5 separate regions of the Homo sapiens genome follow, and all the other regions are linked to region 5. Evidence: promoter capture Hi-C in 16 types of primary human blood cells and fetal thymus (Javierre and others, 2016). All regions are on one chromosome and are shown on one strand. The core of a region is centred on a gene start or on the middle of the fragment in contact, and the rest is flanking DNA. Distances in the headings are between cores, read along the strand shown. Region 1 overlaps ZNF329 (zinc finger protein 329). Region 2 holds the start of ZNF17 (zinc finger protein 17). Region 3 holds the start of ZNF544 (zinc finger protein 544). Region 4 holds the start of ZNF543 (zinc finger protein 543). Region 5 holds the start of ZNF671 (zinc finger protein 671).

Region 1 (4,518 bases), core at 1,834-4,333, 400 kb before region 5:
CCCTCTTCCCTTGTGACCTACCAAAGCTTTATATTATTGTACTTCATTTTATTTTTACTCACGTGAAATGTGTATATTTTGTGTTCTTAAAGTCGCAGTTTGGAATTGCCTGAATGATAGAATGAGAAAATAAATATTGATGTTTTCAGGACATTTCTTTTTTTTCTTTCTTTTTTTTTTTTTTTTGAGGCAGAGTCTCGCCCTGTTGCCCAGGCTGGAGTGCAGTGGCGCTATCGCGGCTCACTGCAAGCTCTGCCTCCCGGGTTCATGCCATTCTCCTGCCTCAGCCTCCCAAGTAGCTGGGACTACAGGCGCCCGCCACCACGCCTGGCTAATTTTTTGTATTTTTAATAGAGACGGGGTTTCACCGTGTCAGCCAGGATGGTCTCGATCTCCTGACCTTGTGGTCCACCTGCCTCAGCCTCCCAAAGTGCTGGGATTACAGGCGTGACCCACTGCTCCCAGCCAATGTTTTCAGGACATTTCTATTTTCCCTTCACGAAGTGCTCTTTGATTACTTTGCCCATTTTTTTTCTTTTTATGTGCTGTTCTGTAAGAATCCTCTGTAGTTCTTGGGCAGTAATTCTTTGTGCTTTTAAATCTTATTTTCTCTCTGTAAGAATCCTCTATAGCTCTTGGGCAATAATTCTTTGTGCTTTTAAGTCCTATTTTCTCCCTATCTGCCACTTGCATTTTGTCTCTTATTGTGTCTTTTATTGGATGGAAAATTTGAATGCTGATATCAGACTTCTTAATCCTTGTCTGTTTTTTATTTTTTGGTTTTTGTTTTTTGTTTTTAAGACATGGTCTCTTTTGCCCAATCTGGAATGCAGTGGCACAATTACAGCTCACTGCAGCCTCAGCCTTCTGTGTGGGCTCAAGTGATAACTCCCACTTCAGCCTCCCAGAGTGCTGGGATTACAGGCATGACCCCCAATGCTTGGCCATATGGTTTTTTGGTTAAGTTTTGTTGATCAAAGTCTGCCACACTTATGAAGGCATACTACATTATTTAAACTTTGACTTTATGTTGCAGCCTGTATCCTTCTGAAATGTAAATACACGCGCACACACACACACACACACACATATACACATATACATGTATATATATTTAAATTGCCTAGAATGTAGACATATATGTATGTATGTATTCTGAGGCAAGGGTCTATTTTCATTTTACCTTAAAAAATAGAAAGAAGGCTGGGCACAATGGCTCATCCCTGTATTTGCAGCATTTTGGGAGGCTGAGGTGGGATAATTGCTTGAAGTTTTTGAGATTGAGGCTTCAGTGAACCAAGATCACACCACTGCACTTCAGCCTGAATGACAGAGCGAGACCCGATCCCACCAAATGAATGAACGAATGAATGGACAACCAGTTGTCTTAATATTGTGAAGTCTGAATGGACAAGGATGGTGACAGGAAGATTGATATGCATGAAGACACATGCAACCATTTACAGAATGCCCTTCATCCCCTAGCCTTGGAGACTGCTTTGTACATGATCCAGTTTTTTTTTTTTTTTTTTTTTGAGACGGAGTCTTGCTCTGTGGCCCAGGCTGGAGTGCAGTGGCACGATCTTGGCTCACTGCAAGCTCCGCCTCCCGGGTTCGCGCCATTCTCCTGCCTCAGCCTCCCGAGTAGCTGGGACTACAGGCGCCCGCCACCACGCCTGGCTAATTGTTTGTATTTTTTTAGTAGAGACGGGGTTTCACCACGTTAGCCAGGATGGTCTCAATCTCCTGACCTTGTGATCTGCCCACCTCGGCCTCCCAAAGTGCTGGGATTACAGGCGTGACCACCGCGCCTGGCCGACATGATCCAGTTTTTATAACAACCATGCAGGGCAGTCTTTGACAGTTTTTGTTTTGTTTTGTTTTTTGAGATGGAGTCTCACTCTGCCGCGTAGGCTGGAGTGCAGTGGTGTGATCTCAGCTCACTGCAACCTCTGCCTACCAGGTTGAAGTGATTCTCCTGCCTCAGCCTCCAGAGTAGCTGGGACTACAGGCATGTGCCACCACGCCTGGCTGATTTTTTTTGTATTTTTAGTAGAGACGGTGTTTCACCATGTTGGTCAGGCTGGTCTTGAACTCCTGACTTCAAATGATCCACCTGCCTCCACTTCCCAAAGTGCTGGGATTACAGGAGTGAACCACTGTGCCCCGCCAGGTCATTGACAGTTCTAAGACTTAGACCCAGAACTTTTAGGTCACCAAGCCTGTGCTTTGTCCTATCCATGAATGCAGAACTTTGATGACAGAGCTGGGGTGAGAACTGTTCCTTCAGTGCTGTTGTAAGCTCATTGTGAAGTCAGAGCTTTGGAAATGTGTACTGATGGGCAGTGTGTGACAGGGACAAGAATGCAGTGGCTGGGATGGAATTCTAGGGGGAGCAGGGATGCTTGGCCTCTGGTCTCTCACATCTCAAACTAATCCTTTTGGTGATGATTTATCCCGAGGTCCATTCCTCCTGCCTGCTCTCTAGGAAGATGAAAATGCTACATGGCTCTTTTTGAATCTGTTCTTGGTTCCATTCCTTGGCTACGATTTTACCTCTTCCTTGTATAAATTTGAATTTAAAAGAGAAAACAAGTAAAAAAATACACATCTTTACACCTAGCCCATCATCATTGTCTGTTTCTCTTACAGATAAAGCTTCATATACCTAAGTCTGCATTTTTCTTCTTTTTGCAGTTTGGGATATGAGATTGAAAATGACGACTCGGAATTTTCCTGAGAGAGAAGTACCCTGTGATGTAGAAGTGGAAAGATTCACAAGGGAAGTTCCCTGCTTGTCCAGTTTAGGTGATGGTTGGGACTGTGAGAACCAGGAGGGACACTTGAGGCAATCAGCTTTAACTCTGGAGAAACCAGGGACTCAGGAAGCAATTTGTGAATATCCTGGTTTTGGGGAGCATTTGATTGCAAGCTCAGACCTTCCACCGTCTCAGAGAGTTCTGGCAACAAATGGTTTCCATGCACCTGACTCAAATGTTAGTGGTCTGGATTGTGACCCCGCCTTACCCAGCTATCCTAAAAGTTATGCAGATAAGAGAACTGGTGACAGTGATGCCTGTGGAAAAGGCTTCAACCATTCCATGGAAGTTATTCATGGAAGAAATCCAGTGAGAGAGAAGCCCTACAAATACCCTGAAAGTGTTAAGTCTTTTAATCATTTTACCTCTCTTGGTCATCAGAAAATAATGAAAAGAGGCAAGAAATCGTATGAAGGTAAGAATTTTGAGAACATCTTTACTCTGAGCTCATCGCTTAATGAAAACCAGAGAAATCTCCCTGGAGAGAAACAATATAGATGTACTGAATGTGGCAAATGCTTCAAACGGAACTCTTCTCTTGTTTTGCATCACCGAACTCACACCGGAGAGAAGCCTTATACTTGTAATGAGTGTGGAAAGTCCTTCTCCAAGAACTACAACCTGATTGTGCATCAAAGAATCCACACAGGAGAGAAGCCCTATGAATGCAGTAAATGTGGGAAAGCTTTCAGTGATGGCTCAGCTCTGACACAGCACCAGAGAATTCACACAGGCGAGAAACCTTATGAATGCCTAGAGTGTGGAAAAACCTTCAACCGAAATTCATCCTTAATTTTGCACCAAAGAACTCATACAGGGGAAAAACCATATAGATGTAACGAATGTGGGAAACCCTTCACTGACATCTCCCACCTTACAGTGCATCTCAGAATCCACACCGGTGAGAAGCCCTATGAGTGTAGCAAATGTGGAAAGGCTTTCCGGGACGGCTCGTACCTCACCCAGCATGAGAGGACTCACACTGGAGAAAAGCCCTTTGAGTGTGCAGAGTGCGGGAAATCCTTCAACAGAAACTCTCACCTCATTGTGCATCAAAAGATCCATTCTGGGGAGAAACCCTATGAATGTAAAGAATGTGGCAAGACTTTCATCGAGAGTGCGTACCTCATCAGGCATCAGAGGATTCATACTGGCGAGAAGCCCTATGGCTGCAACCAGTGTCAGAAACTTTTCAGGAATATCGCTGGCCTCATTAGGCACCAGAGGACTCATACTGGTGAGAAGCCCTATGAGTGTAATCAGTGTGGCAAAGCCTTCAGGGACAGCTCCTGTCTGACCAAGCACCAGAGAATTCACACTAAGGAGACCCCATATCAGTGTCCAGAATGTGGGAAGTCCTTCAAGCAGAACTCTCACCTGGCAGTACATCAGAGACTCCATAGCAGGGAGGGTCCCAGCCGGTGTCCTCAGTGTGGAAAAATGTTCCAAAAGAGCTCATCCCTTGTTCGACATCAAAGAGCACACCTGGGAGAGCAACCCATGGAAACATAATGGTTGGGGGCCACATGAGTCTTCCAGTTCACTCTCACTCCTGTGTTTAGGAGGCGTGTCTTAGATCTGACTCCTCTCTGGTCAGTAGAAAAGAATCCTTTAAGCTATCCAGTGAATTGATGAATGTGAGACATTGCTGAGCCACACTGTTAAGTCTGCTCATTGGGGAACTCCAGAGACAACTTAG
Region 2 (4,351 bases), core at 282-2,781, 320 kb after region 5:
CGTGCAGATCATGAGGTCAGGAGATAGAGACCATACTAGCTAACACGGTGAAACCCCGTCTCTACTAAAAATGCAAAAAATTAGCCTGGCGTGGTGGCGGGCACTTGTAGTCCCAGCTACTCGGGAGGCTGAGGCAGGAGAATTGCTTGAACTCGGGAGGCGGAGCTTGCAGTGAGCCGAGATCGCGCCACTGCACTCCAACCTGGGCGATGGAGCGAGACTCTGTCTCAAAAAAAAAAAAAATGTTTTACACATTCATAAATAAATAAGTTGCAGGGAGGGGATAAGCAAGCAGGTCAGTTACTGGTCCCATCAGCAACCAGGCCTGCCTGCTACAAATTCAGTTGCTGGAAGCTTGCTGGAGGCCCTTGACTAGATGTGAGAAAGCCCTACCCCCGTCTGGACCCAATGTCCCCACTAGTCTGGATGACCTTCCTATTGTTCCACAGAGTGGGCCTGGGGGGCTGCTGGGTCTGCAGGTGCAGAAATCTAAACCACCTCACACCTCAGTCTCCAGCCTAGGCCAGTTCCTTAACCCATTCAGAACTCCGTTTTTGCAGATATGAGCCAGAATCCCTCCTATGACAGGTCTGCGCCTTTCTAAAGGTAGCGTCAGGCTTATGGACCCACCCATGATCTGCCCTCCAAAACTCAGCCCTCCAAAATGCAACTCATAATCCTCTCTGAAACCTGCTCCCTAAGCTGACTTCTCCAACTCCATTCTTTCAGATTTTCAGGCCAAAACAAAATCCATGGAATAGACCCTTCACTACCCTCACTGCTACATTTGATGCAGCAGGAAATCCTGTCGACTCTATCTCTGAGATCCATCCAGAATCTCATCACACTTCCCCTCTACTGCAACCCCTCTGGCCCATCCCTACCATAACTCAAGGGGTCTCCTCAGCGGTCCCCTTGTCCTGGTTTAACATCCTGTTTTTCCCAACTTTAAACGTCTACCTCTGGGCATAACCCTTCCTGCACAGCCTTCTACGGCTTTCAGCAGCTCCGCTGCCCTCCCAGGCGAGACTCCGCCTCACCCTCAGCTCCGTGGAGACAAAGACGCTCGGGCTCCCCAGTGCCGCCCGCTCTGCAGCACCTCTAAGCCTCGCACGTGCAGGTCCCTGACAGGAGCTCCCCCGCCTCACAGCACCGCGGACACCGGTACCCCACACAAGAACGCTCCTCTCTTTGGGACACAGGGGCCTGACCTGCAGGGCCCCTCCTCGGGGCTTCGGCACTCGGAGGAGGGATCGGGCGGGGCGCCCTGGGACGCGGCACCCACCTCAGTCAGGTTCATCGGCGCAGCCTCCGCCAGCACAGCCAGGGAAGAGCGGGGCGGGAGCGGCAGTGACCTGGACGCTGACAGAGGCACCAACGCCTGCAACCGATTCAACCGAGCCTCACTCTAGCCTCTGTACAACGGGGAAACCTTTTCTCGCGTTTTTCCGCTTTTTCACCTCAGTCTCGACTCAGCCTGAAGGTGAACAGATCCCAACGCAGCCATATTGACAACCCCAGGAGGCGTTGCAGGAAGTCCCGCCCACACGCATTGCGAACCCCCGTAGACGCCGCTCTGCTAGGCCTTCATTGGCTACACTCGCTGCTTGTGTCCGCCGCTGTGTCTTTTGGGTAATGTAGTTCCCAGGCCACTGCCTGCCCCGCTTCTGAACTTAAGTTAACTCGCGTTCAGGATGAAAGCCAGGAGGATCCTCCTGAGGCTTTGAGAAATGCAGTTGCGGGGCTCCAAGGACGTGGAGGGGCTTCATTGGCTTTTAAACGGCAAGCATCCAGATTTTCCCGGAAGGCAGTCTAGAACAAGTCAGAGAAATGTTTCAGAGACCTGTCCTTTCAGATTCTGTAAAGCACAGCAAGTTCCCAAAAGACGAACATCCGAAGGAACATGGCCAACCATAAAGAACTGGTCTTCCACGCATAGCGGTCAGCTCTTTTGTGCTTGCCAAATACACACAGAACGAAGCTCTGGAGACTGTTTTATGATCTTCAATGTGCTCTGCTGGGCACATTGAAAAGACCCAGACATGGCATGATGGGGAGTTTGAGGAGTAATATCTTTCCTTTCTGAATAATCAGTTATTGTCTTTCAGCCTACCCAGCAACACTTTATTCACATGATACTTATTACTTTATATCTGAGATATTTTCCACTTATTTTAAGAGACTGAAACCTAACTGAAAAGGAAAAGCGACTTATCTACCATTATCTGCCAGAATAGTGTGGCCTTCCACCAGTCAAAGCCCTTGTGCAAAGAAAGCATCTTACTCCTGAGATAAAGGTTTGGGAATGCATGATCTCATCTCATTAGTGGAAAGTGATTTATCATTTCGCCTGAAATTGTATCAACAGTGTCTGCACAGGGAGTTGAAATTGTCTCTGAATAACTCTTGTGAAATGGCTATTACTGAAACTATTAATGACGATTATGTAGATATCCAAAGAAAGTGGCAAAAATAGTTATAGAGAAACATATTTGTGATAGGAGGAAAAAAGCTAAGGTTGTCCTGGAACCTTGGACACACTCAAGTTTGGTGTCCAAAATCTGATTCTTTTTCAAACTTGAAAACATTGTGCATTAACAGCTTGAAGGGAGAGGTAAAGACTATATATTAAAAGAGTTACCAGAAAAGTAAAGCTGAATAGGGAAACTGTGCTGTCGTATTTATTACTCTAACATATTTGATGAACACTCATTCGATGCCAGGTACAATACTAAGTGCATGGGACACATTAGGAGTAGGGTTGCTAGCTGTCTGTGGTCCTCTAAGACACGTAAGACGTATTTAATGAATTAGTCCTCAGTCCTGTATTGACCTTGTCAGGTCACTTTAAATGTCCTGTATTCCGCTTTTTACAATAAATTACAAAACCTCAGAAGTTAGAGCTATTTTTCTACCACTATAATTGTAAATTAAATCACTTAGCAGCTATGTTAGCTGAAAATCATACCCCCACAAATAAAGATATGGACATAGTCTTGTGATCTCTCCTGCAGAATTGGTGAGGGAAAAATAAAATGGAGCACTGAGATATTCAGTAAAGGAGAAGACTGTTTTTTGGCCAAAGTCTTGAAATTTGGTTTATCAAATTACAAAAAGAAGGAAGGAAGGAGAGAGAAAGAAGGAAACGAAAGGAAAAGAAAAAACCACCCAACTGAAGGTCTGGAAGAGTTAAAGCTGTTCAGTAGTGCCAGCTACATGGAAGTTAAGACGGGAGGATTACTTGAGTTCATAAGTTCAAAACCAGTTTGGGCAATATAGTGAGATCCCCGTCTCTGAAAAAACTGAAAATTAAAAACATGTTAATCATTTACCAACAATACATCCCTACCATCCTACAATTCTATTTCTAGATATTTACCAACAGAAACTAAACAAACTTTTTTTTTCTTTTTTTGAGATAGAGTCTCTCTCTGTCGCCCAGGCTGGAGTGCAATGGCACGATCTCGGCTCACGGCAACCTCTGCCTCCCAGGTTCAGGCGATTCTCCTGCCTCAGCCTCCTGAGTAGCTGGGATTACAGGCATGGCCACCACGCCTGGCTGATTTTTGTACTTTTAGTAGAGACGGGGTTTCACCATGTTGGCCAGGCTGGTCTTGAACTCCTGGCCTCAGGTGATCCACCCGCCTCAGCCTCCCAAAGTGCTGGGATTACAGGCATGAGCCACCTCGCCTGGCCCAAACATCCATCTAACACTTGGTGACAGGCCACATATCTTTGTGTATGTGTATGTATATATATATATATATATGGAGAGAGGGAGAGAGAGAGAGTCTCGCTCTGTTGCCCAGGCTGGAGTGCAGTCACACGATCTCAGCTCACTGCAACCTCTGCCTCCTGGGTTCAAGCAATTCTCCTGCCTCAGCTCCCGAGTAGCTGGGACTACAGGTGTGCACCACCACACCTGGCTAATTTTTGTATTTTTAGTAGAGACAGGGTTTCACCATGTTGGCCAGGCTGGTCTTGAACTCCTGACCTCATGATCCACCCGGCTTGGCCTCCCAAAGTGCTGGGATTACAGGCATGAGCCACCATGCCCAGCCCTTTCAACATATTTTATTAGGTGTTTCGCTACCTTTTGAAATTCCACTTTCATGTAATGAGCGGCTGTATGGTGACAATGGCCCAGGAGGCTCTGGACAGTGAGTGGACATTCTCTCCTTATGTCCCCACAAGGACCTCGTCTTGTTCAATGTTCCGACGTGTTTCCACTCATTCCTGTTCCTCACACTTCATCACCCCACCACTTGTAGACAACAATTCTAAAGGTCTGTTGTGTGTTTTTGTATTTACATGTGTTTTAGAAAGAGGAGCACTGTTACTTTTTGTGTAG
Region 3 (4,380 bases), core at 1,170-3,669, 500 kb before region 5:
ACTTGAGTAAAATTTAACTGAGGCCTCGTGGCTGGGGAGTGAGAAGGTGGGAGCTCCATAGCTCATGGCCCTAAGCACACTACCACTCAGGCTCCCAGCCTCCCCGTCTGGTACACCCCACCCCAGCCCAGCCCAATGCCCCTGTTCTTTTTCTTAACATCCTTGGCCTGAGGCCCACCTCTTGGCCTCTCTGATCTGTTTGTTCTGTGCAATCTGCCTATGCCCTTGACTGCCCTCTCTGCCCAACCCTGCTAGTTTCTGAGTTCTGGGTGGTATAGGAGTTCAGGAACACCAGTATCCACTCAGTCACTATCCCCTTACAGCTGCGAGCTCATGCTCTCACACCCTACTTCAGTCCCCTCCCACCACTGTCCTCTCTGTGCAGACAAATCGGCCTTTTAATTCACTCCAAGGGATGACTCTGGACTCTTTCAACCTCCTGGCACACAAACTCCTGCAGGCCTGCACTCATTAGTAGCTCCCTTCAAATTCTGAGCTGAGATGTCTTCTCCCTGGTCAAGATGAATCCATATCCCAGTGCCCCACCCCCTGCCTCTTCTCCTCTCAGGTGAGGCCTGAACAGAGTGACCAACACTCTCAGTTTCCCCCTCCTCATCTTGCCCATCCTGCTCTGCTCTCTCACTCCCAAACACACACACAAACACAAATGTAGACCACATCCAAGAGGTCTGCCCAATATCTTATGTGTTACTATCTTGTCCTGATGCTCCTGGCCTTCCCTGGGGAATCTCTCACTGCCTGTGTCCATCTTTGCTCTCTAACCCTGTCCTTCCTTGTCTGGAGGCATCCAAGGGCAACGGCTGAGAACACTCACTTTGCAACCTGCTGTCAAAGTACTGGCTCCATTACCTGCCACTGTAGGACTCTGAACGGGTCTCTTTAACCTCTCCAGGCCTCAGTTTCCTCATCCGTAGACATCTGGAAAAACAGCAAGACCTGCCTTGTGAGGATGCTAAAAGAATTAATTGAGTTGCATTTACAGAGCTTAACATTGTGTTAACCTGCAAAAGGGGCACAACACATGTATTCATAGTGATTATACTTGGACATAAAATTCCCCATCTGTTCCTCATACTGGACCTGTATGGTGGCTGATCTGGCAGAAGTCCCTCTGGCTGCAGGGCTGGGGAGGGAGTTGCTTTCTCTTTCCTTTTCCAGTTTTCTCCTTCCCTGCTTGTGGGGTGACGTTTCCAATCTGCTCCAGGTTACGTGTCCAGCCCAAACCTCCTGGGCTTCCTGCCACTGCCATTCCCTCCTCCACATTCAGCCATGTCACCCACATGCTCCTCAACTCCCATGCAGAGACTGACCAGGCATACCACATCTTCCTTGCACTGTGACTTCTACCCTGGCTCCACGCTGGAAACAGAAACACAGTCTTCCTCCACTCCTTCCTGTCTTTTGGCATCCCTCCTTACACGGAGTCATTTCCACAATCAGATGTTTCCCTACTCCCTTAGACTCTTGAAATCCAACCCCATGCCTTCCTCATTAGCACTGCCTTGTACGGTCCCCATCAAATATCACCCAACACAAATGGAACCCCGATCCCTAACTTACAGGCGTTACATACACATCCCATCCTGTTCACCTCTGTAGTCTCTCTATGGGGTGCACCAGCATCGCTTAACCAGTGCAGGCCCCCAACACCCCAGTTACCCCTGCCCTGCGTGGACTGGCCTTAATCTTCTGTTCACTTGGAAAATACACATGTTCTCTGCAAGGTTCAAGCTTCACGTACCATTGGAAGAAAATGTGTCCACGTCTGGAGCTGGGATGACCTCTGGGGTCCAATAGGCGTCACCTGCCTGGTGCCGCTGTGCCAGGAGGCTCTTGGCTGCCACCTGTGGATAAGCCGCAGAAGATGAGTTGAGGGAGGAAAAAGGAGCCGGGAGAGGCCCGCTGGGTCGGCAGCCCCAGAGCTCCAGACGCCAGCCTGAATCCCCCGCCCCTGCAGCCCTCGACCCAGGCACCCTCTGTCGGGAGGGCCCACCCAGTCCCACCCAGTCCCACCCAGTCCCACCCAGTCCCACCCAGTTCCACCCCTGCCCGTACCTGCGAGGTACTATAAGTTCCCTCCCAGCTCTGCAGCAGGAGAGCCTCCCGACAAGCTCAGACCCAGCCGGGCGCTCCTGCAGGGGAAACCTGACTGGACCGGCCTTCCCCGTCCCTGAGGCCGGAGAGATCCCGATCCCATCAGGCCCCTGCCCTTGCTCGGCCTCGCCGCATGAGGGACCCCCGCAGGCCCTGCTCGTTTCTCCGGCACGCCCAGATCACTTGGGGCGGCTCTGGCCTGGTCCTGCGCTCCGGCCGCACCCGGCTAACAGTGAAACCTCCGAGCCAACCTTGAGGCCGCCAGACTCACCTGCACGCACCGGCCAATGGCGGTGCTTCCGGTGGCCGGCGGACGTGCCCGCGCTCCGCGCAACAAACAACTCCCAGAAGGCCGCGCGCCGGTAGCCGTTGCTCCCACAGGCATAGTCATTGCCGGCGGGAGCATGGGGCCCCGCGGCGGCGGGATGAGCTTTTTCCTGTGTTCGCGACTAGCATTGTGGCTTAGGGAGTTGCTTCCCGCGGCTCTGCTCCTTGCAGCGCCTGTCCCCTCCCCCTTAAACGGGCCACGCTGGTTCTCATCCAGCAACCGAAGCCGAGACTGTGGAGGCGGCGGTCGGCGTCCAGGGCGGGACTAGCGCCTATGGGGCTCGGCGCTGTCATCTCGGGTGCCTTCCCGGCGCCTTGCCCTGCTGGGGAGAGAGACCAAGACTGAGCCATGAGAACAGTCCAAGGCCGTTAACCGGGAGCTCAGGGGCAAGGGCGCCCGCCAACATCTGCGCCTGTGGCAGGGACTCAGGGACAGCCTGGGCGTGGGGACGCGTCCTAGTGATAGAAACAAAGCCCCGGGAGTGCCCTGCTTGGAGCATTCCGAGTGGAAGGTGGAAGCACGCTAACTGGAGGCGATTCGTCCTAGGTGATCGCTCAGTCGAGCCTATTTGGCTTTCTGTGGTAGCTCCTAAGTGGGACAGGGAAAAAAATAGGGAGGCTGGCAGTGACCAAGTTCTGTTTTGTACCTATTGCTGCAGAAGTTGTGGGACAGAGTTCTGTTATTATAAATGGTCTGATGTTCAGTCTCAGTGCGTTGTGGGGCTCAATGTCTGAGACCCACCACCGCCTGACCCGTCCTGGCTCTTCAATGAGGGAGACCACAGGAAACTTTCCTACGAAGGCCAGGTAGGCGGGAACCACTGTGGCTCAGGCACCCTCAGCTCCTGGACTGTGCTTTTGTGTCTGGGGTGCATCTGTGACTAGCCTTCCTTGGCTTGACTGTTTTGTAGCTGACCTTGTCGATAGCTTTACCCAACAGTCATCATCTTTTTACTTGCTTATTTTCATACCTGGCTAGCACGACCCTGCAATTTTTAGATTCTTCCGGGAAATCTAGAATCTAACTCCCTAAGGGAGGATCTTGATGGATTCTAAGCTAATCAGAATGGACTCAAGCTTCTTGCTGTGTGAATTAGGCAAGGATATTCTGGCCAAGGAGAAATAAGGCTGCTAGGGGTTTCCTGGGAAGGTTCCCTCAGTCTTTTTTTTTTTTTTTTTTTTTTTTTTTTTTTGTGAGACGGAGTCTCGCTCTGTCCACCAGGCTGGAGTGCAGTGGTACGATCTAGGCCCACGGCACTCTCCGCCTTCCGGGTTCACGCCTTTCTCCTGCCTCAGCCTCCCGAGTAGCTGGGACTACAGGCGCCCGCCACCACGCCCGGCTAATTTTTTGTAATTTTTCTTTTTTAGTAGAGACGGTGTTTCTCCCTGTTAGCCAGGATGGTCTCGATCTCCTGACCTCATGATCCACCCGCCTCGGCCTCCCAAAGTGCTGGCATTACAGGCATGAGCCACCGCTCCCGGCCGGTTCCCTCAGTCTTAAAAGTGGACATAAGATAGCAATGTGTCTTCTTTTGCCCCTGGACCGTGATGTCTGTATGTGATGTGTAGGACAATTACAAGCACACTGGCACCATGAGGAAGCCACCCCAGGAGGTAAAGGCAACATGCTGAGAATGGCACAGCAGAAAAATGGAAAGAACCAGTATCCATGATGGAATGAATCCTCTTTGTGCCACTGAATCAACATTGCCTATGCTCACCTCAGGGACTTTTCATTATGAGATAATAAATGATCTTGTTTGTTTTTATTATAGAAAATTTCAGGCCAGGAGTGGTGGCTCACGCCTGTAATCCCAGCACTTTGGGAGGCTGAGGCAGGCCGATCACGAAGTCAGGAGATCGAGACCATCCTGGTTAACATGGTGAAACCCCGTCTCTACAAAAAATACAAAAAATTAGCCGGGCGTGGTGGCGGGA
Region 4 (4,959 bases), core at 1,980-4,479, 410 kb after region 5:
CCTCAAAGGTCACAGACACCTGGAAAATTAAACAGAGATAGTAGTGTTTCCCTTGGAACTGTGGAATACAACTAGAACTTGTCACTTCAGCACTGCAAAAGATGCGCAGTGACCCAAGAATCAAATCACCAAGCATCTCTAGAGGGCCATGATCTGTGCCAGGCATGAGGGGAATGTGGACATTGCCTTGGATAAATTACAGCAGTGTCGGTCAGGCGCGGTGGCTCACGCCTGTAATCCCAGCACTTTGGGGGGCCATGAAGGGCAGATCACGAGGTCAGGAGATCGAGACCATCCTGGCTAACATGGTGAAACCCCGTCTCTGCTAAAAATACAAAAAAATTAGCCGGGCGCGGTGGCGGGCGCCTGTATTCCCAGCTACTCGGGAGGCTGAGGCAGGAGAATGGCGTGAACCCGGGAGGCGGAGCTTGCAGTGAGCCGAGATCGTGCCACTGTACTCCAGCCTGGGTGACAGAGCGAGACTCGTCTCAAAAAAAAAAAAAAAAATTACAGCAGTGAAGAGAGAGAAGCCTCCTATGCAGAAAGCCACTTCACACAGAAATAAGGTTAGGACAATCCTAAGGGGACTGAGAGGCAAGACAGTAAGTGCTCTGAGACATCAGAGGAATGGGAAAGAATAATAACAAAAACAACACCAGCAACAACAACAAGAACAGCACCTGAGTCTTACCGATCCTCCCTGTGAGCCTGCCTCATGCTAATGGCTTTACATGCCATGGTAAAGTGACTAAAAGTCCCCAGCTCAGGAGTCAGACTCCTGAGGTTTAAAACCAAATTCCTGAAATCAACACAAGCCTGCTATGTGACCTTGGAAATCTCATTTCATTTATCTGAGCCCTGATGTCCAGGTCAACACAACAGGGTTTTCCACTTCACCAAGAATAGTCAAAAGATCTGAAGAAAAGCTGTAAAGGAAACACTGGGGCAAAGGGCCACAGCTCCTGAGTTCACCATCATCATCTCCATGTCACACTCAGAGACTTGAGGTCCAGGACCTCCACTAGTCTACCCAAAGTCACATCTCTTATCAGGAGAGACAGAATTTGAACCCAGGGCCCTATGGTCTATGTTCTAATCATGCAACCCGACACTCCTTCATTAGCAAAGTTAATGCACAGTTAATGAGGATGGGAAACATTGAAATACATCCATTTGAGCCACCCTGAAAATATTTTCAGGATTTTTTTTTTTTTTTTTGAGACAGGGTCTCAATATTTTGCCCAGGTTGGGCTTGAACTCATGATCCTCCTGCCTTAGCCTCCCAAGCTGGATATACAGACACATGCCACTGTGCTGGGGTTAGCCACTTGAAATATTTTCATGGACCTGGGCAGAGCAGCATAGTCATAATCACCTACCTCACAGAAGAGTCACCTGAGGTGGTGGCACCTGCCTCAAAAGTGGCAGGGCCTGGACCTGCATCTGCTGCCTCGGACACTTCTGGGCCTCACAGATGCCCATTCTCATAGGAAGAATCCACAACGAGCTATCACTACCTTTTCCTGTTTGAGTCCTACCAACAAGTATCCCTGAGGTCAGGATACTTCAGGAGCAAGGAACAAGAGTCACAGAGGACACAGCAGGTTGTAGCCATGAGAACATGGGCCCCTGACTGGCTATGTCTGTCCTGGCTAAGGAGGAAGGCACATCTAGCAAAAGACCACAAAATCTTGTGTCCCAAGACATGTGTCAGCTGGTATAGGAGAAAACCACTCAGGAAACCACTGTGGAAGCCACACGGGTCCCCTGCGGACTCCTTAAACAACCAATAAACCATTTTTTTTTAGTCCACACAGTTCCACCAGCATGAAATGCCATGACTCCTCATGTCCAAGACCACCTGCTAGAAGGAAGCCTGCTCAACTTGCAAAGTTTACTTTAGGTGTCACCCCCAGGCCTCCCTAACCATTGCGGGCAAAGAAGAGGGTAAAAACACAGGCTGTGATGGTAGACACACCAGTTGTTAGTTTCTGATACTTAAGAGCTACAGTGATGTAAGGCAGGTAATTGAACCTATGTGAGCCTCCAGCTGCTCTTGTGTAAAACAGTGAGGACAAGAGAACCTAATTCTAAGGAGTTCAGGATTAAAGGAGCTGAGGGTTAAATAATGCCTGCCAATCAGCCCACAGCAAGGACTCTTTATGATCAGCTGTCACTCTTTGCAATTATTTCGTTTCTCTTTGTTCACATAACATCCTAGACCAACTCAAACGGCAAGCTTCTTTAATATCGTCAGATTCTCTATACAAAAATGCCACACATTGCCAAAAATGGGCAAGTGCGTAAGGCGCCACTTTAGCCGGAATTGCCAAGAAAGCCACCTCCAAATAGGTGACATCTGGACAGAGGCCAGAAAGATATGAGAGGGAGGCCCTGCGAAGTTATAGGGGCAGTGTTCAAGGCAAAGGGAAGTGCAAAGAGAAAGCCTGGAAAAAGGAAGAAGACTGCACGGTCAGGTTGGTGGCTCTGAAGAGCAAAGGACAAGGGAAAAATGGAGAGACAAGGTCAGGGGTGGTTGGCCAGGTGGATGGGGTAGGGGCTGGCAGGCAACAGAGGAGGTTGGATTTAAGGGAAGTGTGATGAGATCCATGAAGGAAGCATCATTCATCCTTCTACCAAGGACTGAGCACCTGTCGGAGGCCAACACTATTGCAGGACTGCGGATAAAGGAAATGACAAGCTACGGCCACTTCTCTTAAATAAACGACGGCGACAAAGAAACATCCTGTGGCTGTCTTGGCTTCTGCCTGCCCACGAGGCCTCCAGAAGTAGCAGAGCAGCAGCAAGGCCAAAACCTCGTCCACTCACCTGCGCCGAGGCTGCCATCCTGAGACCCTGCAGCCCTAGCGGGGCCCGGGAATGCCGCGGCTCAGCCGACCCCCAGCCCTTCTCTGTCCTGGGCGGGGCGACCTCGGCTGACTTTCGCACTCGGAGCCTCAGTTTCCCCAGAGAAAAATGCGCACAAAGCGGGCGCAGCGTCGGGGCTGAGGAGACGGAGGGCGGCTGCGGAGGCCTAGGCCTCGGCAGGCGCCGGTGGAACACCCCGTTAGGGAAGAAGCGGGGCGTCAGGCTCCCGCCAAGATGCGGAGAAGGCGCGTAACAGCCTCATTACCCTCCCCTGCTCAGGCCGCTGGACGCGCCTACCCAGCGGTCCAGGCCCCACACTGTTCCAGGGCCAATCCTGCTCACGGAGATGACGTCACGCGACGAAGCGGAAGTCCCACCTCCGCCGCCCTGGCCCGCAGAAATCGCCCGTGTCCTGGCCCGTCATTGGCCTAGAGTCCGCGGCCGACGCAAGGGGTGGTGCCTTCTGAGTAAGGCAGTTTTTCCCTCACATCTACCGGGTGTGGGAACTCACCAAGCGCAGCCGACTCCATTTAAGTGCGCACAAGGACCCCCGCGTCGTCTTAGGGCCGCCGCTTTACTATGGGCACAAGTCGGAGGGTCGAAAGGTCCTTTCTAGCTTAGGAAAATTGAGGTCAGGAGGCGGGGATATTCGCCCCGATTGAGATCATGGGCTGGGCCCAGAGCTTCTGGCTCACTTCCCTTATTTTAGGGAGGTAGCTCATATATGTAATCTCAGTGCTTTGGGATGCCAACACAAAATAATTGCTGAGGTCAGGAGTTTGAGACCACCCTGGGCAATATAGTAAGATGTTATATCTACCAAAAAAAAAAAAAAGAGCAAGGCATGATGGTGTACACCTGTAGTCCTAGACACTGGGAGGCTGAAGCAAGAGGATTGCTTGAGCCCAGGAATTTGAGGTTATAATGAGATATGATGAGAGAAAACACACACACATAAACACACTGAGATGCCATCTTATACTGGTCAGAGTGGCTATTATTAAAAAGTAAAAAACCAACAGATGTTGGTATGGATGCAAGGAAAAGGGAACGCTTATATGCTATTGGTGGGAATGTAAATTAGTACAACCTCTATGGAAAACAGTATGGAGATTTATCAAAGAACTGAAAATAGAACTGCCATTTGATCTGGCAATTCCACTATTGGGTATTTACTTAAAGGAAAATAAACCACTATATCAAAAAGATGCCTGTACTTACATGCTTACTGTAGCACTATTCACAGTAGCAAAGTCATAGAATCAACCTAAGTGTCCATCGACAGATGATTGGATAAAGAAAATGCGATATATATATGTATATATATGTATGTATATGTATATATGTATATATATGTATGTATATGTATATATGTATGTATATGTATATATATGTATATATGTATGTATATGTATATATATGTATATATGTATGTATATGTATATATATGTGTATATATGTATGTATATGTATATATATGTATATATATGTATGTATATGTATATATATGTATGTATATGTATATATATGTATATATATGTATGTATATGTATATATATGTATATATATGTATGTATATGTATATATGTATATATGTATGTATATGTATATATATGTATATATATGTATGTATATGTATATATGTGTATATATATATACACTCCATGGAATACTACTCAGTCATTAAAAAAAATCATGGCTTTTGCAGCAATATGGCTGGAACTGGGGGGCCATTCTCTTAAGTGAAATAATTCAGAAACAAAGTCAAATACTGCATGTTATCACTTATAAGTGGTAGCTAAATGATGTATACATATGGAAATAGTGGAATAATAGACACTGGAGATTCAAAAAGGTGGGAGGCATTGCCGGGGACCCCTCACACCATGGTGCTTCACTCACCTACACCACAGCCATGCCACCCCATTGGCACACACTTGCAGGTAGCCCCCCTCTACTGCCCAAGTGGTGCACACTTGCCTGTGGCCTCCCCATCCCCCAGCCACAGTGCACTCTCTGCAGTCCCCACAATGCTCTGCTGGAGCACTTTTGCCAGCAGACTGAGAACACCTCAGCCCCTCTAGCACAGCA
Region 5 (4,615 bases), core at 1,052-3,551:
GTCCGCTTGGTGCAGAGCTGAGTTCAATTCCTCGATATCCTTGTTAACTTTCTGTCTTGTTGATCCGTCTAATGTTGACAGTGGGGTGTTAAAGTCTCCCATTATTATTGTGTGGGAGTTTAAGTCTCTTTGTAGGTCACTAAGGACTCGCTTTATGAATCTGGGTGCTCCCGTATTGGGTGCATATATATTTAGGATAGTTAGTTCTTCTTGTTGAATTGATCCCTTTACCATTATGTAATGGCCTTCTTTGTCTCTTTTGATCTTTGTTGGTTTAAAGTCTGTTTTATCCGAGAGTAGTATTGCAACCCCTGCCTTTTTTTGTTTTCCATTTGCTTGGTAGATCTTCCTCCATCCCTTTATTTTGAGCCTATGTGTGTCTCTGCATGTGAGATGGGTTTCCTGAATACAGCACACAGATGGGTCTTGACTGTTTATCCAATTTGCCAGTCTGTGCCTTTTAATTGGAGCATTGAGCCCATTTACATTTAAGGTTAGTATTGTTATGTGTGAATTTGATCCTGTCATTATGATGTTAGCTGGTTATTTTGCTCATTAGTTGATGCAGTTTCTTCCTAGCCTTGATGGTCTTTACAATTTGGCATGTTTTTGCAGTGGCTGGTACCAGTTGTTCCTTTCCATGTTTAGTGCTTCCTTCAGGAGCTCTTTTAGGGCAGGCCTGGTGGTGACAAAATCTCTCAGCATTTGCTTGTCTGTAAAGTATTTTATTTCTCCTTCACTTATGAAGCTTAGTTTGGCTGGATATGAAATTCCGGGTTGAAAATTCTTTTCTTTAAGACTGTTGCCTTCTTTAGAATATTTATTTAGGGTATTGTGACAAAGTCAAAAGGTGATGCAGGACAAAAATCATTATATGCAGGACATGTCCTGTATGTATAGGAATCTTGGAAATTTTATTAGTGATGTCTTTCATGCTACTAACACATTTGAAAAACACCTACTGAGAGCTCGTATGTGTTCCTTGGATGTGTATTTTAACAGTGAATTATCAAGACAGCACAACTTCACTGTTGATTTTTACCATTCTGATATCTTCTTTACAATTGCTCAGCATTTTCAGGAAAAAAGAGTCACATTTTGTTGACAAAGTGTGGTCAAGATCACAACACAACCATATGCTTAACTTCATTCTTTCACTTATACTTTAGTATTCAGGCTCAAACTTTACTGAGATCTTAACTTTGTCCATCTATCACAGATATTTCCTTAGAGCAATTTCTTTCATTATCTTCAAATAACTACGGAATCATTATTAATAGCTGTCAGGATTTTTCCCCCGGGGATAATCTCACCTCCTAACACAGACACCATACTTACAATGACAATGACAGGTTAAATGGTAATTGCACTGTGTTTTGCTGTGATGGAGACATCACTGATTACCCAGGCAGGAAGAGTTTTCTGAAGAAATCTGTCCACTGGTTTCAGGGAGACTCCACATCATCCCTCTTCCTTCTTCCACTCCAAGGCCTTGTTTGGAATATTTTCTCTTCCGTCTCTGACCAAACTGAAGCTCACAAAAGTTACTGTAAAGCTTGAGTGCACACATATTTAAAAAGCAACAAGGTAATAGTTATTAGCTTCTAGCTGTGAGTGTACGCAAAGAGACATTGTGGTGTGGTGTATCTATTTAGTTTTGCAGCTTTGGGGAACATCTGAAATGTCTCAACATTTCTGCGATCGGTGCATACTACACTCCAGGGAATCTAGGTCCAGGCCTTTTAAGAGGACAGAAGTCAGCCGGGCACCATGGCTCACTCCTGTAATCCCAGCACTTTGGGAGGCCGAAGCAGGCAAATCACAAAGTCAGGAGTTCGAGACCAGCCTGGCCAACATGGTGAAATCCCGTACTCTGCTAAAAGTACTAAAATTAGCCTGGCGTGGTGGCGGGCCCCTGTAGTCCCAATTACTTGGGAGGCTGAGGCAGGAGAATCGCTTGAACCCGGGAGGCGGAGGTTGCAGTCAGCCGAGATCGCGCCACTGCACTGCAGCCTGGGAGACAGAGCGAGACTCTGTCTCAAAAAAAAAAAAAAAAAAAAAAAAGAGGACGGAAGTCCTGTCAGCCCTTTGAAACTCGGGTTACTTTTCCCAAACAACTTGGCCCTCCTACTTCGAGTTTTCCCAAGAGCCCAGGCCGAGAATCCCCTGCCTTGAAGGATAGCTCAGTGGGAACCACACTCTACCCACAAACCTATACGTTGCATACCCAATGAGGGCCCAGGAGAGGGGTGTTTCAGTGCCTGCGGGGGGTGCGTGGGCGGGACTTCCGGCTCCTCCTTGTAGCGGACATTTTGTTTCTGTCAGGCTGTCCCTGGCCGGGGTTCTGTAACGCTTGTGTGGGCCGCAGGTGGAGGTGTTGGGAAAGCGCGGAGGAGATGTTGTCCCCAGTGTCCCGAGACGCGTCTGATGCTCTGCAGGGACGGAAGTGCCTGCGTCCCCGATCGAGACGCCTGCCGCTCCCGGCAGCTGTCCGCGCCCACGGTCCTATGGCGGAGCTAACGGACTCCGCGCGGGTGGGTGCTGCGTCCTCCGGGCCCTCAGTCACCCTTTCTCCGACTCCGAATCGTAAAGTGCCTGCAGCCCCTGTGTCCCAGGACAGCGACGCACTCTTGGGGCGGGGTCCTATCTCGGTGTGGGTGGGTGTGGGAGAGTTACGGGCGGAGGGGACGGCGCAGGTAAAGGCTCGGGGGTGCTGCTGACCCCCAAACATTTGGGAGACAGGGTTCTCATCAACACAGAGCAGAGTTTGAGGAACTGTGACTGGAATGGCAGGCTGAGAAGTTGTCGCTTCATTCTGAGGGCGTTGAGATTAACTGAGGGTTTTGAATAGAAGGACGTGATCTTAGCTGGGATTTTAAGTGTCTCGAAATTTGCTCAGGGGAGAACATTAGTTTGGGGTGGGGACTGCGAGGATGGATACGAGGAGACCGGTAAGGAGGCTACTGCAGTGGATTCCAGGAATGCTTTGGTGGTGGATGTACCAAGAGTAATGGCAGGTGAGTGGGTAGAAGTGATCATATTCTGGGTAGGTTTTAAATTTGAAACCAACAGGATTTTCTGCTCCATCATATGCAGCTATGACTGAAAGTAAGGCATGAAAGAGCAAGGTGTTTTTGTTGTTTTTCCATGAACGTTTGGATTTTGGAATGGTGACTTTGAGATGTCTCAGAGTGGAGGCTTCCTCACTTAGGCAACTAGAGAGGAAGGTCTGAAGTTGTGGGGAAGGGGCTGGGCTTAGAATATCTTTGGGGTGAAGGGAGCGGTCTGGAGTAGGTCAAGGCCAGGAGGTCAGATTTAAGTGGGGCAGTCTTAAGTATGTTATTTCATATCTCTGGGGTAAGAGATGAGAAGGCTGGGACTGCAGGGCAGGGAAGAGGGAGTGGGCATTCTTGAGACTCCCCCCAGAAGAGAAGGGTCCTGCCATTTGAAAGGGTTCTTTTCAGTGTTTGCAGGAGGAGAGAGCTGTAGGGTATGAGGAGTTTGGCCTGGGATGGCAACGATGGGTGGTGTGCTATTGCTACTATCTGATTATCTCACCCTCATTTTGTGTGTTTTCTTTTAGTTTTAGTTTATTTATTTTTTTTATTTTTTTTGAGACGAAGTCTCACTCTGTCGCCCAGGGTGGGATGCAGTGGCTTATTGCAACCTCTACCTCCCGGGTTCAAGAGATTCTCCCGCCTCAGCCTCCCAAGTAGTTGAGATTACAGGTGCCCACAACCACCCCTGGCTAATTTTAGTATTTATAGTAGAGACGGGGGTGGGGAGGTGGGAGGGGTGGGGTGGGGTGGGGAGGTGGGAGGGGTGGGGTGGGGGCGGGGGAGTGGGGGGGACGTTCACCGTGTTGGCCCAGGTGGTCTTGAACTCCCGACCTCAACTGATCCACCGGCCCCAGCCTTCCAAAGTGTTTGGATTACAGTTGTGAGCCACTGCACTTGGCTTTGGTTTTATTTTATTTATTTATTTTTTTTTTGGAGACGAGTCTCGCTCTGTCACCCAGGCTGGAGTGCAATGGTGCGATCTTGGCTCACTGCAGCTTCTGCCTCCCAGATTCAAGTGATTCTCCTGCCTCAGTTTTCCCAGTAGCTGGGATTACAGGCATGCATCACCATGCCCAGCTAATTTTTGTATTTTATTAGATAGAGTTTCACCATGTTGGCCAGGCTGGTCTCAAACTCGTGACCTCAGTTGATCCACTCCCTTCGGCCTCCCAAAGTGCTGGGATTACAAGAGTGAGCCACCATGCCTTGGCCAGGTTTTGTTTTGTTTTGTTTTTTTGAGATGGAGTCTTGCTCTTGTCACCCAGGCTGGAGTGCAGTGGCGCGATCTCGGCTCACTGCAACCTGTCTCCTGGGTTCAAGCAGTTCTCCTACCTCAGCCTCCCGAGTAGCTGGGATTACAGGTGCCCACCACCACACCCCGCTAATTTTTCCATTTTTAGTAGAGACGGGGTTTCACCACGTTTCCTAGGCTGGAGTGCAGTGGCACAATCTCGGCTCACCGCAACCTCTGCCTTCTGGGTTCAAGCAATTCTCTTGTCTGCCTCCTGAGTAGCTGGAATTACAGGCACCCGCCACCACGCCCAGCTAATTTGTTT

What was found. The method cuts DNA at HindIII sites, captures the fragments that hold promoters and counts their contacts. A CHiCAGO score of 5 or more calls a contact.
Region 1: a contact is called between a fragment that was not itself captured here and the fragment with the promoter of ZNF671 in region 5, in 2 of 17 cell types (naive CD8 T cells and naive CD4 T cells). The highest score is 5.4, in naive CD8 T cells.
Region 2: a contact is called between the fragment with the promoter of ZNF17 here and the fragment with the promoter of ZNF671 in region 5, in 15 of 17 cell types (naive CD4 T cells, total CD4 T cells, monocytes and 12 more). The highest score is 16.5, in naive CD4 T cells.
Region 3: a contact is called between the fragment with the promoter of ZNF544 here and the fragment with the promoter of ZNF671 in region 5, in 3 of 17 cell types (non-activated CD4 T cells, activated CD4 T cells and total CD4 T cells). The highest score is 5.8, in non-activated CD4 T cells.
Region 4: a contact is called between the fragment with the promoter of ZNF543 here and the fragment with the promoter of ZNF671 in region 5, in 8 of 17 cell types (activated CD4 T cells, naive CD8 T cells, total CD8 T cells and 5 more). The highest score is 10.1, in activated CD4 T cells.

What each region holds. Positions count from the first base shown.
Region 1 is chr19:58,127,691-58,132,208 of GRCh38, reverse strand. ZNF329 (zinc finger protein 329) reads left to right here. Exons shown (of 4, transcript NM_024620.4): 4 at 2,698-4,518. The coding sequence starts at 2,706. The coding sequence ends at 4,331. Among named protein-coding and RNA genes, the nearest start is that of ZNF329, 21 kb to the left of the region's middle. The HindIII fragment of the contact is 846 bases long and covers 2,661-3,506 here.
Region 2 is chr19:57,408,341-57,412,691 of GRCh38, reverse strand. It overlaps ZNF17 (zinc finger protein 17), which reads right to left and starts at 1,531. Exons shown (of 4, transcript NM_001330617.2): 1 at 1,286-1,531. RefSeq lists a silencer at 832-1,034 and enhancers at 1,278-1,337, 1,418-1,527. The HindIII fragment of the contact is 5,033 bases long and covers 357-4,351 here.
Region 3 is chr19:58,226,953-58,231,332 of GRCh38, reverse strand. ZNF544 (zinc finger protein 544) reads right to left here and starts at 2,419. Exons shown (of 7, transcript NM_014480.4): 1 at 2,387-2,419; 2 at 1,763-1,865; 3 at 871-939. RefSeq lists an enhancer at 1,717-2,543. The HindIII fragment of the contact is 1,767 bases long and covers 1,755-3,521 here.
Region 4 is chr19:57,318,742-57,323,700 of GRCh38, reverse strand. It overlaps ZNF543 (zinc finger protein 543), which reads right to left and starts at 3,229. Exons shown (of 4, transcript NM_213598.4): 1 at 2,830-3,229; 2 at 1-19. The coding sequence starts at 2,847. RefSeq lists enhancers at 3,131-3,280, 3,291-3,410, 4,336-4,853. The HindIII fragment of the contact is 3,609 bases long and covers 2,242-4,959 here.
Region 5 is chr19:57,725,310-57,729,924 of GRCh38, reverse strand. ZNF671 (zinc finger protein 671) reads left to right here and starts at 2,301. Exons shown (of 4, transcript NM_024833.3): 1 at 2,301-2,534. The coding sequence starts at 2,397. RefSeq lists enhancers at 1,955-2,004, 2,145-2,584, 2,102-2,602 and a silencer at 1,923-2,148. The HindIII fragment of the contact is 7,103 bases long and covers 1,558-4,615 here.